Regions from separate parts of the Homo sapiens genome. Here regions 1 and 3 are each linked to region 2. Evidence: promoter capture Hi-C in human tissues and cell types (Jung and others, 2019). All regions are on one chromosome and are shown on one strand. The core of a region is centred on a gene start or on the middle of the fragment in contact, and the rest is flanking DNA. Distances in the headings are between cores, read along the strand shown. Region 1 overlaps FIBCD1 (fibrinogen C domain containing 1). Region 2 holds the start of PRDM12 (PR/SET domain 12). Region 3 has its middle 52 kb from the start of FUBP3.

Region 1 (3,089 bases), core at 443-2,942, 240 kb before region 2:
CACAGGGTGCTGATTGGTGTGTTTACAAACCTTGAGCTAGATACAGAGTGCCGATTGGTGTATTTACAATCCCTGAGCTAGACATAAAGACTCTCCACCTCCCCACCAGACTCAGGAGCCCAGCTAGCTTCACCTAGTGGATCCCGCACCGGGACTGCAGGTGGAGCTGCCTGCCAGTCCCGCGCCGTGTGCCTGCACTCCTCAGCCCTTGGGTGCTCGATGGGACCGGGCGCTGTGGAGCAGGGGGTGGCGCTCGTCAGGGAGGCTCGGGCCGCACAGGAGCCCACGGAGGGGGTGGGAGGCTCAGGCATGGCGGGCTGCAGGTCCCGAGCCCTGGCCCGCGGGAAGGCAGCTAAGGCCCGGTGAGAAATCGAGTGCAGCGCCGGTGGGCTGGCACTGCTGGGGGACCCAGTACACCCTCCACAGCCGCTGGCCCAGGTGCTAAGTTCCTCATTGCCCCGGGGCCAGCGGGGCTGGTCGGCTGCTCTGAGTGTGGGGCCCGCCAAGCCCATGCCCACCTGGAACTCCAGCTGGCCCGCAAGCGCCGCACGCAGCCCCGGTTCCCGCTCGCGCCTCTCCCTCCACCCCTCCCTGCAAGCTGAGGGAGTGGGCTCCGGCCTTGGCCAGCCCAGAAAGGGGCTCCCACAGCGCAGCGGTGGGCTGAAGGGCTCCTCAAGTGCCGCCAAAGTGGGAGCCCACGCAGAGGAGGCGCCGAGAGCGAGGGAGGGCTGTGAGGACTGCCAGCACGCTGTCACCTCTCACCAGCCAGGGCTCCTGTTTGGGCCTGGAGGCAACCGCACGCCTTCCTGCCACTGGGACACAGTCCCTGCCTGGCACAAAGTAGGAGCTCAGAAGGTTCTGTCAATATCATTACCTATGTTTAAATTCACTCAGTATTTTAGAATTTTTGAAAGTCCTTAACATTTCTTTTTTTTTTTTAACATTTCACTATCTAAACAAAATATTCTAAACAAAACTTCATTTATCTAAACAAAACATTTATCTTAACAAAACATCCTAAAAGAATCACAACTTTGAGGTCCTATCTACCTATATATATTTGGGAAGTGGCTATGGCTTGAAATGAGGTGGATTTTTCTGGTTGTTCTTGAGATATAATTTACATACAACAAAATTCCCTGTGTGGAAGTGTATGACCCTGTGGTTTTTAGTATATTCAGAATATTACAACCATTGCCACTGGGTCCAGAACCTTTTCCTCACTCCAGAAGGAAACCCTGTACCCCCGGGAGCAGTCACTCCTTGCAGGTTTTGAATATACATGAAACGCACAGGTGCTGGGGAATGTGTGCCCCGAGTGTCATCTGGGCGGCCTCGAATGCCCCACAGTGTCCTCCTGCACTTAAGCCCCCCGGGTGTGTGCGGACATCCAGGGAGTTCCACAAGCTGTGGGGGTTGGGGGCGAGGGGCGGCGGAGGGGGCGCCTTGGGTGGGAGGGAGGGAGAGGGTAAGAAGGGTGAGGACATCCCGGGAGTTCCCCAGTGCGGGGCAGAGCTGGTGGTGGAGGGAGAGGGTGAGAAGGGTGTGGACATCTGAGGAACTCCCCTGCGAGCGAGCGGGGTCAGAGCTGGTAGGGAGGCTTAGGCGGGAAGGAGAGGGTGGGCCTGCGTGCCTGGCGGGAAGCACCACCTGAGAGGCTGAGAGCGCAGGTCTGGGCACCAGCCGGGGTCAGGAGGGCTCCAGGCCTGTAAGGATGTTCAGTGACACCCCTGGAAGATGGGGGGTCGGGGGCCCCAAAGGCAGGGTTGGGGTGGTGAGGCGGGGCCGCCCCTCTGTGTGCATGGAGGCCCCTGGGCAAGATCTGCCACCCATGCCCCCTCCTCACCGGGGCCCATGAGAGCAGGGCCCTCTCTGACCTGCCGTGCCCTGGTGCCCAGGGGGTGCCGACAACAGGGAAGGTCACACCCCGTGTGGACTTCATGCCCACACCCCGTGCTGACCCCCAACCCACTGAGCACCCAGCTACACGCTTCCCATGCATCGTCCCCAAAGCCTCACACCCACCTAGTTGGGGGCCCTGCTGTCGTCCCCTCCTTTTAGAGATGAGGAAGTTGAGGCTTAGGAAAGGGAGGTCCCTTGTCACAAGCCTGCGTGTGTTGGGGTTGGGGGAGCCCCAGCAGGGTCTACACACTGGCGCCCAACCCAGCTCGCCTCATCCCCGAACCTGGTGGGTGGAAGGAGGGGAGATGGGGAGACCCTGCCTCAGGCTCCCCAAGCTGGGGGTAAAGATAAGGACAAGGCGGCAGGGCCAAGGCATGCCCTCGCCACCACCCACCCCCTGGAGCAGCGGTGATGCCCGTGCTCATGGTATCTTAATTGAAATCTATCAGCAGCTGCAGATGATGCGGGAGGAAGCATTTAAGCAGGTCCTCATTCCAGCATCCTGCAGACGAGCCCTGACAGGAATGTCAACAGCGCCAGTCCCTCCTCTGCCGCACCACCCTCCCCATCCCCTCTCAATGAGTGCTTTGTCTTTTCCTATCGAGTCATGGAAGCTCTCTATATATTAAGGTTACCGATCATTTGTCCAACACATGATAGGTATTAACTTCTGGCCATTTGTCTTTCAGCTTTTTCTTTTTCTTTTGTGGGGTCATGTTATTATTTATTTCCTAGAAATTTAAGATGTTTATGCACTCAGTTCTGCCACCCTTTTCTTTGTATCTTTTCTGGGTTTTAGCCCCTGCTTTCCTTTCCTTCCCTTCCTAGTTTTATTTTTTTTTTAAGTCTCCTCTATTTTTTCTTCTGTTTTTCTTTTCTTTCTTTTTTTTTTTTTTTTTGAGACAGAGTCTCACTCTGTAGTTCAGGCTGGAGTACAGTGGCATGATATCAGCTCACTGCAACCTCCACCTCCCGGGTTCAAGCGATTCTCCTGCCTCAGCCTCCCAAGTAGCTGGGATTACAGGCGCCCGCCACCACGCCCGGCTAATTTTTGTATTTTCAGTACAGACAGGGGTTTCACCATATTGGCTAGGCTGGTCTCGAACTCCTGACCTCGTGATCTGCCCGTCTCGGCCTCCCAAAGTGCTGGAATTACAGGCGTAAGCCACCGCGCCCAGGCTTTTCTT
Region 2 (2,777 bases), core at 129-2,628:
GCGCCCGGGCTCAGACAAACCCCGATGTCATCTCTCTGGGCGGGGAGGAGCCGCGGCGGCCCCCAGCTCCCCGAGGGTTCCCCTGTCGGGCATCTGCGGCAGGGCTGGAAGCGGCGAGGCGCACAAGGGCGGCCTCCATGTCTTACAAGGTTCCCCTCTAAGCTACCTGGGAAAATACCCGGCGAGCGGGCCGGCTGAAAGGGGGGGGTTAAACGGTGTCCATTGCGGCGCGGCGGGCAATTTGTCACGCTGTTAAAGTGATCGCATTCATTCGGCTCCATTCGAAAGAAATTGCTAATTCTAAATTCATTAGCCCTGGAAGAATGCTGTAGCAGTAAATTGTAGCTCAATGCGGAGGGGACTTGTTTAAAAGGGGCCGAGGAATTCCCCTTACAAAAAAGGGGGATTAGATGGTTGACATAGCGTGAATGGAAGTGGAATTAGTCTTCACGGTAAATTAAGAGAGGAACAGAAATCGTAAAGGGGGAAAAGAGGGCGACGCGCAGAGATGCCAGAGCCAGGGAAAGATATTGTTTGCGGGTTGATGAATGAGGAATAAGAACTTGAGACATCTTAAAGAAAAGAAACTTTTCTCGCTCTCTCTTTCTCTCCCTCGCTCTCCCCGCGGCTTTTTCTCCCCGCCCGCCCTCCCTCCACCCCCTCCCCAGCCCCGGCTGCCTTTTAAAGTTCTTGGTTTAAGTGGGAACTTTCGTGGGTCAAGCCCAAGTTAACTAAATGAATTTAAAACCCCTTCTTTTTGAGTCAACTGCTATTACACGCCTAGTAAGGCTGTAAATGCCGGGAACCCGCCAGCTCAAGCGCAGGAGGGGAAGGGAGGGGCCGGCGGGGGCGTCGGGGCCGAGCGACGGGGTCGCCGGGGTCGGTCCTTGAGCCGGGTGGGCTGCGGAGCTGCTTGGTGGCTCGCGTCCTGGTTTGGCCCATGGGGAAACTGAGGTGCACCGAGCGCCGGGAGAGCCCAGGTTGGCGCGAGTAGCAGCGAGGCCGGGTATCCCAGCCGCGTCTCGCGCATCGCCAGGACGGGAATGGGGGTCGCCGGGAGGAGGGATTGCGCCGGGCTCCGACGGCTGGACTCACCGCCGGAGAAGGACTGCGCCAGCACCTCGGCGGTGAAGGCTGTCTTGGGGCTGGCGTGGTGGCTCTTGTCCTCGAAGAGCTGCTCCCCGAGCACGTTGCGCCAGCGGCCGTACAGGAAGCTGTGCAGGATGTCGGAGGTGATAACCTCGGCCAGCGCCAGTCCCGGCGCCTTCAGCCCGGTCTTGAGCACCAGGGCCTCAGCCGGGAGCACGGAGCCCATCATGGGCGGCCCGGAGCTCCCCGGCGCCGGGGGACGGCCGGGCCGACGGGGGAGGTGGGCGGGCGAGAGGGGAGCCCAAGGGGCGAGAGGAGAGCGCTGCGATGGAGAAGGAACCAGAGCAGGGGGAGGACGGAGAGGAGGAGGACGCAGGAGGGAGCGGGAGGTGAGGGGGCGACTGGGAGGAAAGCGAACGAGGGGGAGAGGGGAAGAGAGATGGTGAAATCTGTAGAGATGGCAAAGGCGGCGCGGAGGGTGGAGAGACGCGGGTGGAGGCGGAGGCGGGTGCGGGGGGTGCAGGGTGGGTGAGAGGCGGGTGGTTGCAGGGAAGCGGCAGCAAGGGGCTCAGGCGCGCGCTAGCCTCTCGCACACTCGGCCGGGGCCGTCTTCCCCTTGGCAAAATCTCAGCGCCTTTATAGGAGCCGCAGTGACCCTCCTAATTGGTTATTAATGACCCCCTGACGTCGGAGGACAGACTTGTTGTACCCGGCTGGGCTCGAGGAGCCTTCGTCGCGAGAGCGCGAGGGGCGGGGGCGCGCGGACCGCTCCAAACAGTACCCCTCCACTCCTCTCTCCCCTTCCTGGTCCTTCCTCCCCCCTCCTGTTTTTCCTTCTCTCCCCGTGGGAAGCGCAGGGCAGGGAGGGAGGCTCAGCCGGCTCTGAGGAGAGGAGGGGACGGAGAAGGGGAGGGGGTGCGGCGAGGCTCTCTAGGACTCCAGGGACCAGGCTAGACAAGAGGGGACGCCTGGCTTCGGGCCCCGCGCTCCCCTCAGGCCTGATCTATGTTCACCGGCCTGGCCCAGCCCGGCGTTCACCTTTACTTTGCTGCCCCGGCTGGCCGGCCCAGCCCTGCACCGCTCTCCCTCCCCGGCCAGAGCCCGCGTCCTCTTCCCTCTCCGGCCCTGCACTCCCCGGGCCGCCACAGTCGCCCCGAGCTCGCGCGCAGCCCTAGTTGCCACGCGGATCCCCTGCTCAGACTGCGCTGCTGAAGCCGGCGCTTCGCTTCATACGGGCCGCGCCAACTCGGTCGCTGTGCACGGTCGGGTGCGAAACTCCTCCGCGGGCTCACGGGGCTGCCGAGGCGGGGCCGCAGCGGCCGTCGGGGCTGGGGCTGGTCCCGGCCTGAGACAGCTTCATGGAAGGCCAGGCTCCCGGCCCTTGCGGGGCCAGGTCGGGGGTCGAGATGGGCGGACAGGAATCGCCCTGGCAGCCTGTCTCTGGGAAAAGAATTTCCTACGGGATATAGGGGGATTGAAAGGGGTCCCGAGACCCTTCCTAGGTGGGAGCAGGCGTGCCTGAGAGCGAAGTCCCTCAGAAACTGCAGGCAGCTCCGCGAGAGGCCTCAGTGCGGGTTCGGCTTGCGGCCCGGCTTTCCGGCTCCTTGCTGAGCTGCAACCTCGGGAAGCCGGTGGCGTTGCGGCGCCCCTTCCTTCTTGCCTCCTAGTTCTTTCTTTCTCCTCTGCCT
Region 3 (3,139 bases), core at 516-3,015, 140 kb after region 2:
GTCTTGCTCTGTTACCCAGGCTGGAGTGCAGTGGCAGTGTGATCATAGCTCACTGCAGCCTCGACCTCCTGGGCTCACGTGATCCTCTCACCTCAGCCTCCCGAGTAGCTGGGAGTACAGGCCGGGCTGATGTTTGTATTTTTGTAGAGGCAGAGTTTTGCCATGTTGCTCAGGCTGGTCTGAAACTTCTGAGCTTAGGAAATCCTCCTGCCTCGGCCTCCCAAAGTGTTGGGATTACTGGTGTGAGCCACTGCGCCTGGCCAGTTTGCACTGTCTTTGAAATCCAGTGTGTATTTAACACTCACAGCGCATCTCAATGGGGACCGGCCACAGTTCACGCGCTCACACGTGGTGGGGCTACTGTTCCGGACAGCACAGCTTGAGACCGTAAGCTGTGGGGTGGTGGGGCGCATGGGGCTGAGGTCTCGCCCATTTTGCTCGCTGCTCTACCCCAGCGCTCAGCTCAGTGCTTAGCATGTCTCTGATGCTCAATAAATATGCAGTGAAGGAATGGGAGGTGAATGAAGTTACTTCAGATACTTTTTGGACATCTGGAGGGTATCTTTTTTTTCCTCCCTTCCATTCTACCTTCCTTTTTACCTAACTCCCTTCCCACCTTCCCTCCTCATCTCAGGCCCTTTCTTTAGGGTAAAGATCTTAACACACACATGCACACTCGCCCCTTCTCATTTCACTCCGGGAGGTTCTAAACACCAGCACTCTCAGCCTTGGCGCGCGCATGTATCAGCTGTTAAAATGCAGACTGTGGTCAGTAGGTCTGGAGCAAAGGGGCCCAGATTCTGCCTTTCTAGTGAGCTCCCAGGGGCCCCTGTGGGTCTATGGCCCCTGCTTGAAGGCGGGAGGCTGTAGAGCCGCCTGCTCTTCCTGCTGGCTCAGGCTAGGGGTAGAGGGTCACACGAGGACCGAGGAGAATTTGGAAGCAGAGCCCTCCTGCTCTTGTTAACCTTCCTCCCTAAATATGGGCTACTGTGCTTTCTGGGGAGCAAGGGGGTCCCAGCATGGGGTGGCTTGCTGCCTCTGGCCTCTGCCCTCGTTGGGATGTTGTGACTCAGGCAGGACACTCTGTTGAAGGTGGAGTTTCTGCCCCACACAGAGTCAAAGGCAGGAAGTCCCACCTTGGAGGCACACTGGGTCCACTGGTCCTGCCCAGAGGCTGTGGGACAGCCAAGCTTGGCCTTCCAGGGACCTATGATACCCCCAATACCACGACTGCCCCACCAGACTGGCTGGCCACTGCCACCTTCGCCCACAGGAGAAGGCCGAAGCTGAGCAGGGAGAGTTCCCCCTGGGGAAACTGGAGGCTTCCTTGAACTTACTCTGTGACCTTGAGAAGCCCCCCAGCCTCAGTTTCCCCATCCGAATTCTAGGGGCTGGTCTCAGCAATCCCAGCTCCTGCCTGAGACAGTCGGCGAGCCCAGCGAGGTCCTGGGGCCGTGCGTGTGCACGGAGGCTGACTCCGCGGCTGTCCGGGTGGGATTTCTGGCGGCAGGGGTGTCTCCCTCCTGTCCCAACTGGCCCACATGGGGCTGTTTTTCACAGCACCATTGATCCGGCTAAACCAGGGAGATGCATTACATCTCCTCCGGAGGTCAGGGGTTGGGCAGCCCAGCTGGTAAATCGCCCGCTGGCTGTGTTTTAAGGCCCTGCCCTGTGTTTTGGCTCCTTGGACCTTGGGAGAAACTGCTGAAGTTTGATATGGCTCTGGGGGCCCATGGGGGCAAAGGGCGTCAGGCAAGGGAGGGACAAATAGATCGATGGGAAACTGCCATGACCTCATGACCTCGGAGATGGCTTCAAACTGTGTCTTAACATGCCCTGGTAAATCTGAGGGTGGACCTGCCTCCCCTGGGGACAGTGGGGACAGTGAGGACGGGGCGGGAGGAGGCAGTGAAGGGCATGCCAGGGAAGTGAGAGACCACGGTCTGAGCGGCTGGATTCTTAGCGTTCGCCAGCTGCAGCCAGGCTGGGTTTGATCTGCTCTCCCTTGTCGTCATGTAGCGGGGGCACCGCACTTTACAGTGTGCACCGTACGCGCTGCATGTTCTGTCCTTGCGGGTGCAGACTTTGATGGTGGGGAAGACTGGGCTCAGCCTGGGCCCAGGTGGCCCGGTTTGCAGGTGGCAGAGCTTTTGAGGGACTGCAAATGGGTCAGTCTAGCTGAGGGACAAAATCCAAAGGGAGTCCAGACAGGTGGGGACAGGGCTCCAGAGGTGGCCAGGGACCAGCGTCACACTTTAAAGAGCCCCAGGAAGCTTTCAGCTCAGGCAAGAGAGGGAGGAATAACATGCAATTGTGTTCCAGAAAGCTCACATGGCTTCAGTGCGGGGCCAGAAGGGAAGCTGGTTTGGTTGCGATGATTCCTCACGGGCCCCCACCATCTTCCTAGGCACTTGCCCGCAGGGCCCGGAGTCACAGATCTGGGTTCGAATCCCATCTCTGCCCCTGACTTGCAAGTGACTTCTCTCTGAGCTCTGGTTTCCCAGCCTGTGTCTCTATGAGTGTTAGACGTTTGGCTGAGACGAGCTCAGGCGCAGCGCCTGGGGCCGAGCCGTCAACGCGGCCACTGTCACCATCCCACTTCCCCTCGGCCAGGCAGCCTCAGTCTCCCTCCCGATGCCACAGCCCTCCTGGGGTCTGCAGGAAGTAAAGTCTGTACACCTGCCCAGTCCCTGGTGCCCAACCCAGATGGGCTGAGGGCACACAGTGTGGAGGCAACCAGCCATTTCTTCCTTCACCTTTACCCTCTTTCCTGGAGTTGGGGGGCAAGATCCAGGGGGCGCCTCACTGTCCTCCCAGTGGCATTAACTCCTTGCTGGGCCTCTTGTGACCCCTGGGGTGAGGCACATCCAGAGGCTGGTGGCTGCAGATTCCAGCCTGGTCGTGACTATGACTGGCCCTTCATCAGGGTGTGCCCTTCTCTATGGGCCTCAGTCTCCCCATTTGTGCAATGATTGGCATTTCCCAAATACAACAGGCATGACTGGTGGCCCAAAAGATGATTTGGGCTGAACATTGCACCCGCTGTGATAAATGTATCCTCTTTCTCTTTTTTTTTTTTTGAGACAGGGTTTCACTCTTCTTGCCCAGGCTGGAGTGCAATGGCACGATCTCAGCTCAC

Evidence for each region. Contacts are between HindIII fragments. The study calls those that stand out against the background at their distance.
Region 1: a contact is called between a fragment that was not itself captured here and the fragment with the promoter of PRDM12 in region 2, in 1 of the 25 tissues and cell types used here (bladder).
Region 3: a contact is called between a fragment that was not itself captured here and the fragment with the promoter of PRDM12 in region 2, in 3 of the 25 tissues and cell types used here (H1 embryonic stem cells, IMR-90 fibroblasts and spleen).

What each region holds. Positions count from the first base shown.
Region 1 is chr9:130,907,611-130,910,699 of GRCh38, reverse strand. All of the region lies in intron 5 of FIBCD1 (fibrinogen C domain containing 1), which reads left to right. Among named protein-coding and RNA genes, the nearest start is that of QRFP, 12 kb to the right of the region's middle. The HindIII fragment of the contact is 6,343 bases long and covers 1-3,089 here.
Region 2 is chr9:130,663,195-130,665,971 of GRCh38, reverse strand. It overlaps PRDM12 (PR/SET domain 12), which reads right to left and starts at 1,378. Exons shown (of 5, transcript NM_021619.3): 1 at 1,096-1,378. The coding sequence starts at 1,318. RefSeq lists enhancers at 131-804, 2,095-2,777. The HindIII fragment of the contact is 18,845 bases long and covers 1-2,777 here.
Region 3 is chr9:130,525,809-130,528,947 of GRCh38, reverse strand. No RefSeq gene overlaps it. Among named protein-coding and RNA genes, the nearest start is that of FUBP3, 52 kb to the left of the region's middle. RefSeq lists enhancers at 922-1,422, 2,187-2,686, 2,687-3,139. The HindIII fragment of the contact is 3,402 bases long and covers 65-3,139 here.